Regions from separate parts of the Homo sapiens genome. Here region 2 is linked to region 1. Evidence: promoter capture Hi-C in 16 types of primary human blood cells and fetal thymus (Javierre and others, 2016). All regions are on one chromosome and are shown on one strand. The core of a region is centred on a gene start or on the middle of the fragment in contact, and the rest is flanking DNA. Distances in the headings are between cores, read along the strand shown. Region 1 holds the start of KCNF1 (potassium voltage-gated channel modifier subfamily F member 1). Region 2 has its middle 66 kb from the start of FLJ33534.

Region 1 (5,645 bases), core at 1,504-4,003:
GAGAGAACACATGGGCTTTGGGATCATCAGACCTGGGATTGTTCCCTTCTCTGTGTGACCTTGGGCCTCAGTTTCCTCATCTGTAAAATGGAGATACCTAGCTAGTAGGGTCAATGGAAGGAATAGAAAGAGGTTGTGAAAAGGGCCCGGTGCACGTGATAACTAAATGCTGCAGGCTGCTGGGCGTGCACTGTGAACTCTCCCCCATCCTGGGCCTGCAGGGGGAGCAAGCTTTACCCCAGAAGGAAGCAGCAGGGAAGCACGGCCTGCAGAGCCTCCAGGAATGTGGTAAGGCTCCTTGGCGCCGAACCTGACTATGAGCCCTTCTTTAATTAGTTCCCACTAAAAATAACTCCCCCACCACCCGGCTGCACACCTACCTCCTGGCCTGGCACTGAAGTGTGCCTGAGCTACTCTTGGGGGTGACAGCCAGCCTGTGACAGAACCTACAACACGGAGGGTGCACAGAGCAGGAGGCTTTATTGAGGGAGATACAGAAGCGGGCGTGGGCTCTCGTGCCAGCCAGGCCGCGGCCTCCACTCGTCCCACACGGCCCTGCGGCTCCTGCACACCCCTCCCTCCCGGGCTCCTGGACAGCAGGCAACATAGAGGAGTCTTACCCAGCCTTGGCAGAGGTGCCGGGAGGGCCTTCAGAGTCTGTCCAGGGGAGGGTTGGGGGGACACAGGACAGCCCTTCTGTGCTGTCGATGACATGCCTGCCACATCTACCCATCTGTCCACCGCCTGGTCCATCTCTGCCTGAGGGGCCCTCCTGTCACTTGCAACTCTGGAGCCGGGTCCTGTGGTGCTTCTCCTCGGTCAGGAGGGGGATGAAGGTGTCGCTGTGGGAGAGCTTCAGCCGGCTGCTGCAGCTCGGCGCCTCCTTCCCCGCAGGCTCTGGAGGGAGGTTGTCCAGGTCACTGCGGGAGCCCCCGGTCTTGCCCTCGCCCCCGCTGCTGGAGTTGAGTTCCATCAGCTCCAGCTCGTGCTTGGCCGCGGTCTCCAGGACGCGCTGCTTGTTGTAGTACCTGACAAAGTTGTTGATGATGGGGTGGATGGGCAGGGCGATGGCGATGACACCACACAAGAAGCTGATGGCCGCGTTGAGCTTGCCCAGCGTGGTCTTGGGGTAGATGTCGCCGTAGCCGACGGTGGTCATGGTGATGATGGCCCACCAGAAGGACTGGGGGATGCTCTTAAACAGGGTCTCTGGATGGCTCTGCTCCATGGTGTAGCCCAGGGCAGAGAAGACGAAGATACCCACTGCCAGGTACATGAGCAGCAGCCCCAGTTCCTTGAAGCTGCGCTTGAGGGCATAGGTGAGGGTCTGCAGGCCCGAGGAGTGGCGGGCCAGCTTGAAGATGCGCGCGATGCGCATGATCCGCAGCGCCTGCACGGCCTGCTGCACGTTGGTCAGCTCCATCATGCGGGCACCCAGGTGCGTGAGCGTGAGGCTCACGTAGAAGGGGAGGATGGCCAGCACGTCCACAATGTTCATGAAGGACAGCGCGAAGTGCAGCTTGTTGGGTGACGAGAAGAGGCGCAGCAGGTACTCCAGGGTGAACCAGCCAATGCACGCCGTCTCCACGTTCTCCAGCGTCGGGTGCTCCACGCGGTTGCCCTCGGCGTCCAGCACCTGCAGCTCGGGGATGGTGCCCATGCACATGACCACGGACGAGACGAGGATGAGCAGGAAGGAGAGCACGGCCACCACCCGCGCCGGGCACGACGACTCGGGCTTCTCCAGGAACTTCCAGACGCACTTCTGGCAGCGGCGCCAGCGGCCCTCGGCTGCGTCCACGCCCAGGTCGTCCAGGATGAGCTGCACGCGGCGCGCGATCTCCTCCAGCTCCTCGCGCTTCTCGCTCAGGTGGCTCTTGCAACAGTCGTCCAGGAACTTGAGGTCCACCTTCCAGAAGTCCATCTCGTTCTTGAAGCAGATGGGGCAGATGCCCTTCTTCATGTGGACCTCCCCGAAATAGTACACCTCGATGACACACTTGAAGGCGTCCGGGTCCCTGTCAAAGTAGAACTCGCGCTTGCCGGGGTCGTAGTCGTCGCACAGGGAGAAGATGGTGTCGTAGCCCCCAGCCAAGCAGTTGATGAGCTCCGCCAGCCGGGTCTCAGGGTACTGACTGAGGAGGTCCCCGTACAGCACCTGCCGCACGCCCCCCACGTTGACGACTATCTCTATGTCGTCGCTGGCAGCGGAGCTCTGGCTGCCCGGCTCCGGGAGGCTGCGCTCCCCGGACCCGTCCATCCTCCCCGCGCGCGCCCTCGCAGCCTCCGCCCCGCGCCCCCTGCAGCCGCCGCCGCCGCTGCCGCTGGGGGTCCGGCGGGTGCCACCCGTGCGCTGATCTCGGGGAGAGCCTGGCCGGCGCCCGCCTGCGGGGAAGGGCGGTCACAGCGGGCAGCAGCCTGCGGGGGCGCGCCGCGGGGGAGGCATGCACCCGGCGGCGGGGCTCGGGGCTGGCATCCGGGCGCCCGGGCGAGCCCGCGGGGGCTTTGGCGGCCGCCGGCCTCGCCCGGGGCACTCACCCCGGCTGGCTGGCGGCGCGCTCCGCCGCTTCAGCTCGGCCTCCTGCGGGAGCGGGGTCTCCTCGTGGGCGGCTGGCACCGTCCTCCGCCCCGGGGCGCGCAGGCAGCGGCGGCAGGTCCCGGAGCTGGCGGACCCACGCCGTCCGCGAGGTGCTCGAGGTGTGCAGAGAGCGAACTTGGGCTGGCTTTGCCCGAGCCTTTTCTAAACACAATAGGAATTCCAGCCTGACGTCAGGAGCTTTTCAAACTGTACCCTCTTCTGGTGAAATTCTGCAAGGCACGCGCGGCAGCTGCAGGGGACGGATTAACCCTTGGGCAGACGGGCACAGCTGCCGCGCCCGCCGCCACCACCGCGCACCGCCGGCCCCTCCTCGGGCGCAGCGGGTCACCGAGGGGTTGCGACCTGGCTTGAAGCGGCAGGCATTCTCTCTCACTGCTGTTTGGAGAGGATTAGTGGGGAGAGAATGCTGCCGCCTGTTGCTGGGCAGGAAAATGTGCTCCAGGAAGCCCCTTAGAAGGTGACTCCTATGTCTGGGTCCCTCCTCCGGCCTTAGACCCGCGCCGGCTTTTCCTGGTGGGAGGAAAATCCTGCCTGATCCTTGAAGCGTTTCCTGCCCCATCCCCCCGACCCAGCAATGCCCTGCTGTGTTGGTGGCACTGTCTCACCTTCCCCGCAACGCTGTACAAGGAGGACATCTAGTCCAGCCTCCTGTAGAAGGGAAGGGACTTGCCCAAGGTCACGCGGCGGAATGAGAGCAGAGCTCAGCTTGACCGCCTCCTGATCCCGAGCTTTCCGGCTGTCCCAGCTGACCGACGCCTGCTGTTCAGCAGATTTCAATTCTGCCTTGAAGTCCCTGCCGTCTGGCACCTCCTATCTCTCTGCAGTCCCACACCAAGGCCACTAGCTTCCAGACCCCTAGGGTCCAGTGGCTCCTGCTTCCCCGTTCCTCACTCCTTGACCAAGGCCTGTCTCTTCCTGACCAGTGTCCCACACCCTCCTCTCTTCCAGCCTTTGCAGCCACAGCTGTCCTTCTGTCCTCACTCACCTGAACCACTACAGCAGCTTCCTAACAGTGTCTCTCTCCTCCGGTTCACCACTATCATCAATACTGCAAATTACTGATATCATCTATGGCCTCGAGATCGTGTTAAAAATATTCTGGAGGGAAGAATGAATAGGCAGAGCAGAGGATTTTTAGGGCAGTGAAACGTACCATAATGGCGGATATGTGTCGTTATGCAATGGTCAAAATCCATAGAATGTTCACCACCAGGAGCGAATGTTAATGCAAACTCGGTGCTGGGCGATGATGACGTGTCCATGTGGGGTGGTCCACCATGACAAGTGTCCCACCCTGTGTGAGATGTTGATGCGCAGGGGAGAGCTGTGGAGACAGGGGGCATGTGGGAATTCTCTGTACTTTCTGTTGAATTGTGCTCTAAAATATAAAGTCTATTTAAAAATGTATTCTGTAGGCTGGGTTTTTTAAAACTTAAGGACATGTCCGTTAATGGATTATGAAATCAATTTACTGGGTCACTGACAGTATTCTTTTTTCTTTAATGAGTTAGCATAAAACAGAATATATTAGAATACATCACATGAAGTATTATTTAGTGAAACTTCGTTTTACAAATTTTACTTCATTTCCATTTAGCATCAGACAATGACATGCTACTACAGAGTAGGAAATCGAGGCTCAGAAAGGTTGAGTAATAATAAGAGTTGCCACTTATTCTCCATGGGCATCGGAGTGCAGTCTCTGAGTGCTTTGCATTTTTGTCATTTAATTTCCCAGCAACCCCTAAGGAAACAAGATGTCAGGTAACCTGCCGAGATCACTCTGTGGAGCTGGGATTTAACCATTGTCCTGCTGGGTTCTGAGGCCTATTCTTCTCCCCAGTACAGTGCTACACACCACCTCCTACACACACCCCAGCTTCCTCTTCCAATCCTTATGCATGCTACTCCCCTTATCAGCTGTCCGAGTACCTGCAGGGTTAAGTTCAAATTGCATCCTAGTCTGAGCTTAATGGGCTTCTAAATACCCATTCATTCACTCAGTTATTCAAATATTTATCGAGCTCTTATGGCACATGTGTGCAAATGCACACACACACACATACACACACCACCCTAGGTGTGGGGACAGGGTTCATATTCTAGTAGATAATATGTTTTTTGTAAATAATAATTAACAGTTTGGGGTAATGACCTTAACAAGAGGGGTATATGTATTATACAAGAGTGGTGCTTCCTGAATTTCTCCACAGGGGGCGCTGAGGGGCGGCCATCTGGTTGGAAGAGGGAGGGGCTGCATTTGCCTAGAAGCCCAGCCTTCACTCACTCAGGTTTGCATCGGGGTGTCTGATGAATCTCCCTCAGCAGATAGAGCCCCAATAGCTACTCCTTTGTATCGTCATGAAATACAAGGTGCTGTGGAACCCGGGAGTTTGCAGATACCTGGGCAGGCCCAGGAGAGGCTGGTGCATTAAAATTATACCGCTGGGATTTAGAGAGATCAATGTCATTGAAAGAACGCATTACTAACATGTCCTGAGAGAAGAGGACACGCCAGAGGAAATTCCAGGTGTGGCCAGGCAGAAGCAGGAGCGAGGGGAAAACGAGGCCAGGCCCTCTATTGGGGTTTCCTGGGGGAAAAGTTAGGGCAGAACAGAGGAAAGAGTCCAGGATTGGCTCCTTGGGATAATTCTGGTGGGCTTTGAACTACAGAGGTGGTCTCTAGTTGCCTGGTCCCTGGTCTGGGATGATTTAGGGCAGGGAAATATTGCCTTGGTGTGTGAGAGTTTGATGAGGGGAAGTTGGGGGTCTGGGCCTGGAATTGGTGGGTTTGCCTGTGAAAGATACGCTCCAGCCTTTCGCAATCTCTAAGGATGTCACCCACTGGGAGGGGCAGTCTCTCCAGTCTGTGAGGCCACATTGCCAGTCATCAGGAATGCAGAAAATAAGAAATCATAGTTAATACACTATTGACCCCAGGCTGAGAGGATGGCAGGCGGACAAATCTAGAATCTAGAAAGATGTGATGACAAGCTGGAGACTCAGGCCCCCGGAAGAGCCAGTGCGTGAGCTGAGCCTGGAGGTC
Region 2 (5,514 bases), core at 2,846-5,345, 150 kb before region 1:
GGAAGCGGGGTGCGTGACAGGTCTCCCTTCTCGCCTCCTGCTGGGTGTCCTGGCTTCCATGGTTGAGCCTGGCCTCTGTCACTCTGAGGCCCCACCATCCCCATGGATGTCAGTGACCTCAGCTCTGTGACTGCCGCCTACTGTGCCTGGTCTGCAGGGGACAACCCTTGTCAGGCCTCTCAGTGACGCTGCTGCCCCTCTTGCCAGCAGGTTCCAAGTAGCCTGGGGGGGATATGTGTCCTCTGGGCTTGCTCCTGAAACAGCACCTTCTGCCCACACCTCAAATGCCCATCCCAGCACGCCCGCTCCCCTCAGCTTTCCCTGCTCTCTGCCAGGCCAACTCAGGCATCTCCATCTCTCCTTGTTGGTCGTCATTTCTTCCTGGCCACTCTGAGCCATCCCAAGAGTGTGCTTGTCCCATCTCCCTGGGGTTCTTGCTATGGTGTTAAATCCTGTGTCCCCATGTGACACAAAGTTCATGGGAGGCCGTTATTTTGGATGGGCCTCCTGCACGAGGCCCCAGTGGACCAGACCCAACCAGCATGAAGGCACTTGTACTAAATGCCCCGTAATTGAAATGAACTTTGAAATGGGCCAGTTTTCAGAAAGAACAACAGCAACAAACCCCCGGAGATCCCAGTCTACCCGAGTCAGCATAATAGGGAAGTCCCCTCTGTATTGGCAATACAAGGAAAGTAACTTTGAAGTGATCAGTCCACTTTTTTTGTTCTCTTTTCTGTTCCCTTCAGTCCTTGTTTGCCTACAAAGCCAACTCCTGTGATGGACTCATTGGAGCACTCATTCTGTTGCATAGCACAAGGCGCTGCCCGATTCTAGAATCACAAATAAAGCAATTCGATCTTTAAACTCAATTGTGATTTTTGTCTTTTAATGCAAGACAATGCCCCCGTCAATAAGTTTCTGCTCACCCGGTCTCAGCATCCCAGGCCGTGGGACCCCAGTCAGAGCAGTCCCTTCCTGCTGGTCATGCTGGCTCATTCTTGCCCTCCTGTAAGTACATAACCTCCTTCCTTATCAGGCCAGGACAAACCCAGGACCATTTATGCTAAGATTTAACTATAGCAGTTAGCAGCCAGGAGATGGCATGGGTGCAACTCCTGAGGGGCCTCCATTGCCTTGTGGGGCAGTGGTCCCTGCAGCATCCTCCATCCTGGCAGAAGTGCTAGCTCCTATTAGGGAAGGGTGGGGCACCTCTGCAAGCACAAAGGGGCCAGAGGGACCTGCAGGGGATTCCTGGGGGCAGCCATCCATGTTTCAGGGTCCCAGGGTCCCCTCCTTAGAGCCCCAACCTTTGCATGGCAGATCTGGCTTGGCCGACTGCGCAGATGGCTGTGGAGCTCTGCGCCTGCTCAGCCCACGTGTGAGAGACGAGGGCCTCTTCGGGAGCTACCACAGAGGCCCGACGGCTGTCCCATGAATCACAGCTGCTTGTTGACCCTCCTCTGCTGGGAGGTTTTCCAAGGTCACTACTGGGGGAAGCTTCAGCTGGCCCGGGTTCCAGAAACTATCAGTGTCCTGTCTTTAACCAGGATGGCATCCTTGTCATCCTCTGGGCAGTGGACAAGCCGGTCCCAAATCCTCCTCTGACCGACCGTTTTCTTGGACCATCCCTGGAACCATTTGTGGAGCTTGGGAGCTCTGAGGAGCAGACACCAGCAAAAAAGTAAAGCCGGAAAATCAGGGGACATGCAAGTGGGGGAAGATGGGGTGGGGTGCAGAGAGGCGAGGCGAGCCGTGGGATGGCGATGCCCATCAGAGGAGCGCAGGGAGAGGAAGGGGGATCTGAGGAGGGGGCTGAGTCCACCATGAGGTTCTCAGGGCAGGTCGGCCTCGTCCTGGTGAAACTTGGAGCCACAGTCACCTGTCAGGGGAGACCCATCTCCCAGGAATGGGCCTGCCTCAGTGTCCCTGGCATGCTCCGTCGTGGCTAGGAGTGGCTGATGGGAATTGTTTCAGCACAAGCGTAGGGAACGGTTTCAGAGCATGTCAGCGAAGGCCTGAGCGATCACTTCCCTGCAGACGAATCGAAAAGGTGCGCTCTCCACATATGTTTATTGCGGCACTATTCACAATAGCAAAGACTTGGAACCAACCCAAATGTCCAACAATGATAGACTGGATTAAGAAAATGTGGCACATATACACCATGGAATACTATGCAGCCATAAAAAAGGATGAGTTCATGTCCTTTGTAGGGACATGGATGAAGCTGGAAACCATCTTTCTCAGCAAACTATCACAAGGACAAAAAAGCAAACACCGCATGTTCTCACTCATAGGTGGGAATTGAACAATGAGAACACATGGACACAGGAAGGGGAACATCACACACGGGAGCCTGTTATGGGATGGGGGAAGGAGGGAGGAATAGCATTAGGAGATATACCTAATGTTTAATGACGAGTTAATGGGTGCAGCACACCAACATGGCACATGTATACATATGTAACAAACCTGCACGTTGTGCACATGTACCCTAAAACTTAAAGTATAATAAAAAAATAGTAAAAAAATAAAAAGAAAAAAAAAGAAAAGGTGCATTCTCACCGCAACCACCATCTCACTGGGCTGTAGCATCTGCTTCCAAACTGGAGGAGCTTCTTTGCAGCCCTGTCTTGCTGGAACCACAATTTTGACTCTGCCTTCTCCCAATTTGGTGACAGACCTGCAGCCAGAATTTGCTCTTTCTTCTGTTACCATCACAGTTGATGCAAGTTGATGGGTCCTGGCATCTTCTTGGTTAATGCTCCACCTTCTGTCTTTTGAAACGGGCAGTGGATCGACCTCGTCCTGCTATGTTCCCTGTGAGAGAGAAGGCTTGGATTCCTTGGGAAGCTTTCTGAATAGCCTGGCCCTCTCCTTTCCTCCGCAGCTGGACTTTCTCAGCACCGTCAGAAGGAACGTCTCCAGCCCTTGGGTTCTTGGTGATCACAGCCTCCCCAGAGGGTTCTGACAGCGGTGGCTGCTGCTTCAGGTGGAAGATACCAGGGTATTTCCTCTGTCCACATTTCTCAGTGCCTAGGCATGACTCTCATTGTGTGGCCATCTCTAGAATCTCAGCGTACAATTATATGCTGTTTGTTTATTCTGAGATTTCTTGGCATTGCCAGTTAGGGCTGTCGCCGTTCATCTGTCTTGGAGTCATAGATTGTTACTGCTAGTAAAGTGCTTATGAGGAAGTTTATGTAACTTTATGTATTTACAGCCAGGGATACTGCAGTTCAGAAAGGTCTATGACCCAGGAAATTTGTGGCAGAGCCAGACTGGAATGCAGGCTCCTGATTCCCAGTTCGGTGTACTTTTCTTTTCCTACCCGACCTGGCTTCTCATCTTTCTTCCCCTCACCCCTTTTGCTCACCTTCCCCTTATTTAATTCCTCCATCTTCACAGGCAATCGCATACAGACTCATACATTCGTGGTCCCTGACTTTCTCTAGCATAAGAGATGCCAGTTACCCTCTGAGCACCTGCAGCAGTGACCCTAATGTATGTGGACCATGGCTTCTTCCTTCCTCACTTCTCCCCTGTCTCACTTCTCACTCTCTCACTCCTGTTTCCCGGGATCACCTTCCAAATAAACAACCCAAGTTCTTGTCTAAGGGTCCACGTGGTGGCAGAATTCTAAAATGACCCCAAGATTCCCACCTCCTGAGATCGTAGCCCCAGCTAACACCTTGACTTCAGCCTTTTGAGATCCTGAGCAGAGAAGCTAGGTTATGTCTTGACCTCTGACCAATATAAACTGTGGGAAAATAAATGGCTGTTGTTTTAAGGCACTCCGTTGGTGGTAATTTCTTATAAACTGAGTACAGCATACCTTTTGTGAAACCCAAACTAAGATGCCTTCCAATTATAAAGCTTCATGAGTCAACACTCATGAAGCAAAAATTACAGAAAATACAAGGAGAAAAAGAAACACATTAATAGTAGAAGATATTAATTCATCTTTTTAGCATATGATAAATCAAGTAGCCAAATAACTAATTAAGGATATAGAACTAAGTGATATAATTAATATAATAGGTTGTATAGATGTCTAGTGTAAGCCAGGTTGAACTAGGCTCACTACAGCCTTTCCCTCACACCAATTACAACTAAAAGCTCCGGACAAAATATACTGAAAAGTTAAAAATAGCAGGCAGATTGGGAAGGGAAACCAAACTTGAAGAATGACGTATTCAAGATATCTAAATTTCTGAGATGCAGTTAAAGCAATGTTTAAAGCAATTTACAGTATTATATGCTTATATTAGAAAAGGAAAATGGCTCATGTCAATAACCCAAGCTTATATCTTAAGGAATTGGAAAAAGAAGAACAGACTACATTCAAGAAGAAGGAAGGAACTAGTAAAGATATCAGCATAAATCAATGCCACTGAAAATAGAAAAATAATAGAAAATAATCAATGAAGCCCCAAATCGGTATTTGGTAAAATATCAACACAATTAATAAACTTCTGGCCAAACTGACCAATATGAAAAAGGGAACCAACAGATCTATTGTACAACGTGATAACTTTAGTTAATATCAATGTACTATATACTTGAAAATTGCTAAGACAGTAGATTTGAAATGTTCTTAACACAAAAAATAAATATGTGAGTAAATACATTAATTAGTTTGCTTTAGTCATTCTACAATGTATACAGGTATCAGAACATTATCTGTACACCATAAATGTATACAATTTTTATTTGTCAATTAAAAACGATTTTTTAAGAAAAGAGGACACACGAATTCCTAAAATCAGAAATGCAAGTGTGGGATATCACTAAAGACCCTACAGACATTCACATAATAAGGGCATACTATGAACAACCCTGTGCCTTTAAGCAGGATAACTTGTACTAAACTGACTAATTATTTGAAGAAGAAAAAGTACCAACATTCATTAAAAATACATAACCTGAATATACTATAAATATCAACATTTCTTAAGGAAATTGAATTCATAGTTAAAATCTTCTGGAAAAAAAAAAAAGAAAAGTCCAGGACTAGGTGGTTTCATTGGCAAATTCTTTAAAGCAGAATAATACCAATTCGACACAATTGCTTAGAGAAAGTAGAAGGGGAAGAAATATTTCTCAACTCATTTTATGAGGCCAGCGTTACTCTGATATCAAACAAGACAAAGACACTATAAGAAAACTACAAATATCCCTCATTAACCTAGATACAAAATCCTCAACACAATATTAGCAAATTGAATCCAGTAATATATAAAAAGGACAATACAGCATGATTATATGGGAATTATCCCAGGAATGCAAGGGTGATTCAACATTTGAAAGTCAATCAATGTAATTAATCATATTAACAGAATAAAAAATATAAACTATATGACCATCACAAAAGATGCAGGCAAAGCATTTGACAAAACTAAATATCCAGTTGTCTTAAATACACTCAACTAAGTAGGAATAGAAAACTTTTTTTAAATGAGATTTTCGTGCTTTCTTTTTTAAAAAAAATTTATTTTATTTTAGGTTCCC

Evidence for each region. Contacts are between HindIII fragments. The CHiCAGO score rates a contact against its expected background, and 5 or more counts as called.
Region 2: a fragment that was not itself captured here is called in contact with the fragment with the promoter of KCNF1 in region 1 in 1 of 17 cell types (endothelial precursors); the score reaches 5.1 in endothelial precursors.

What each region holds. Positions count from the first base shown.
Region 1 is chr2:10,909,042-10,914,686 of GRCh38, reverse strand. KCNF1 (potassium voltage-gated channel modifier subfamily F member 1) reads right to left here and starts at 2,753. Exons shown (of 1, transcript NM_002236.5): 1 at 462-2,753. The coding sequence starts at 2,260. The coding sequence ends at 776. RefSeq lists an enhancer at 5,208-5,645. The HindIII fragment of the contact is 10,094 bases long and covers 234-5,645 here.
Region 2 is chr2:11,063,677-11,069,190 of GRCh38, reverse strand. No RefSeq gene overlaps it. Among named protein-coding and RNA genes, the nearest start is that of FLJ33534, 66 kb to the left of the region's middle. The HindIII fragment of the contact is 427 bases long and covers 3,882-4,308 here.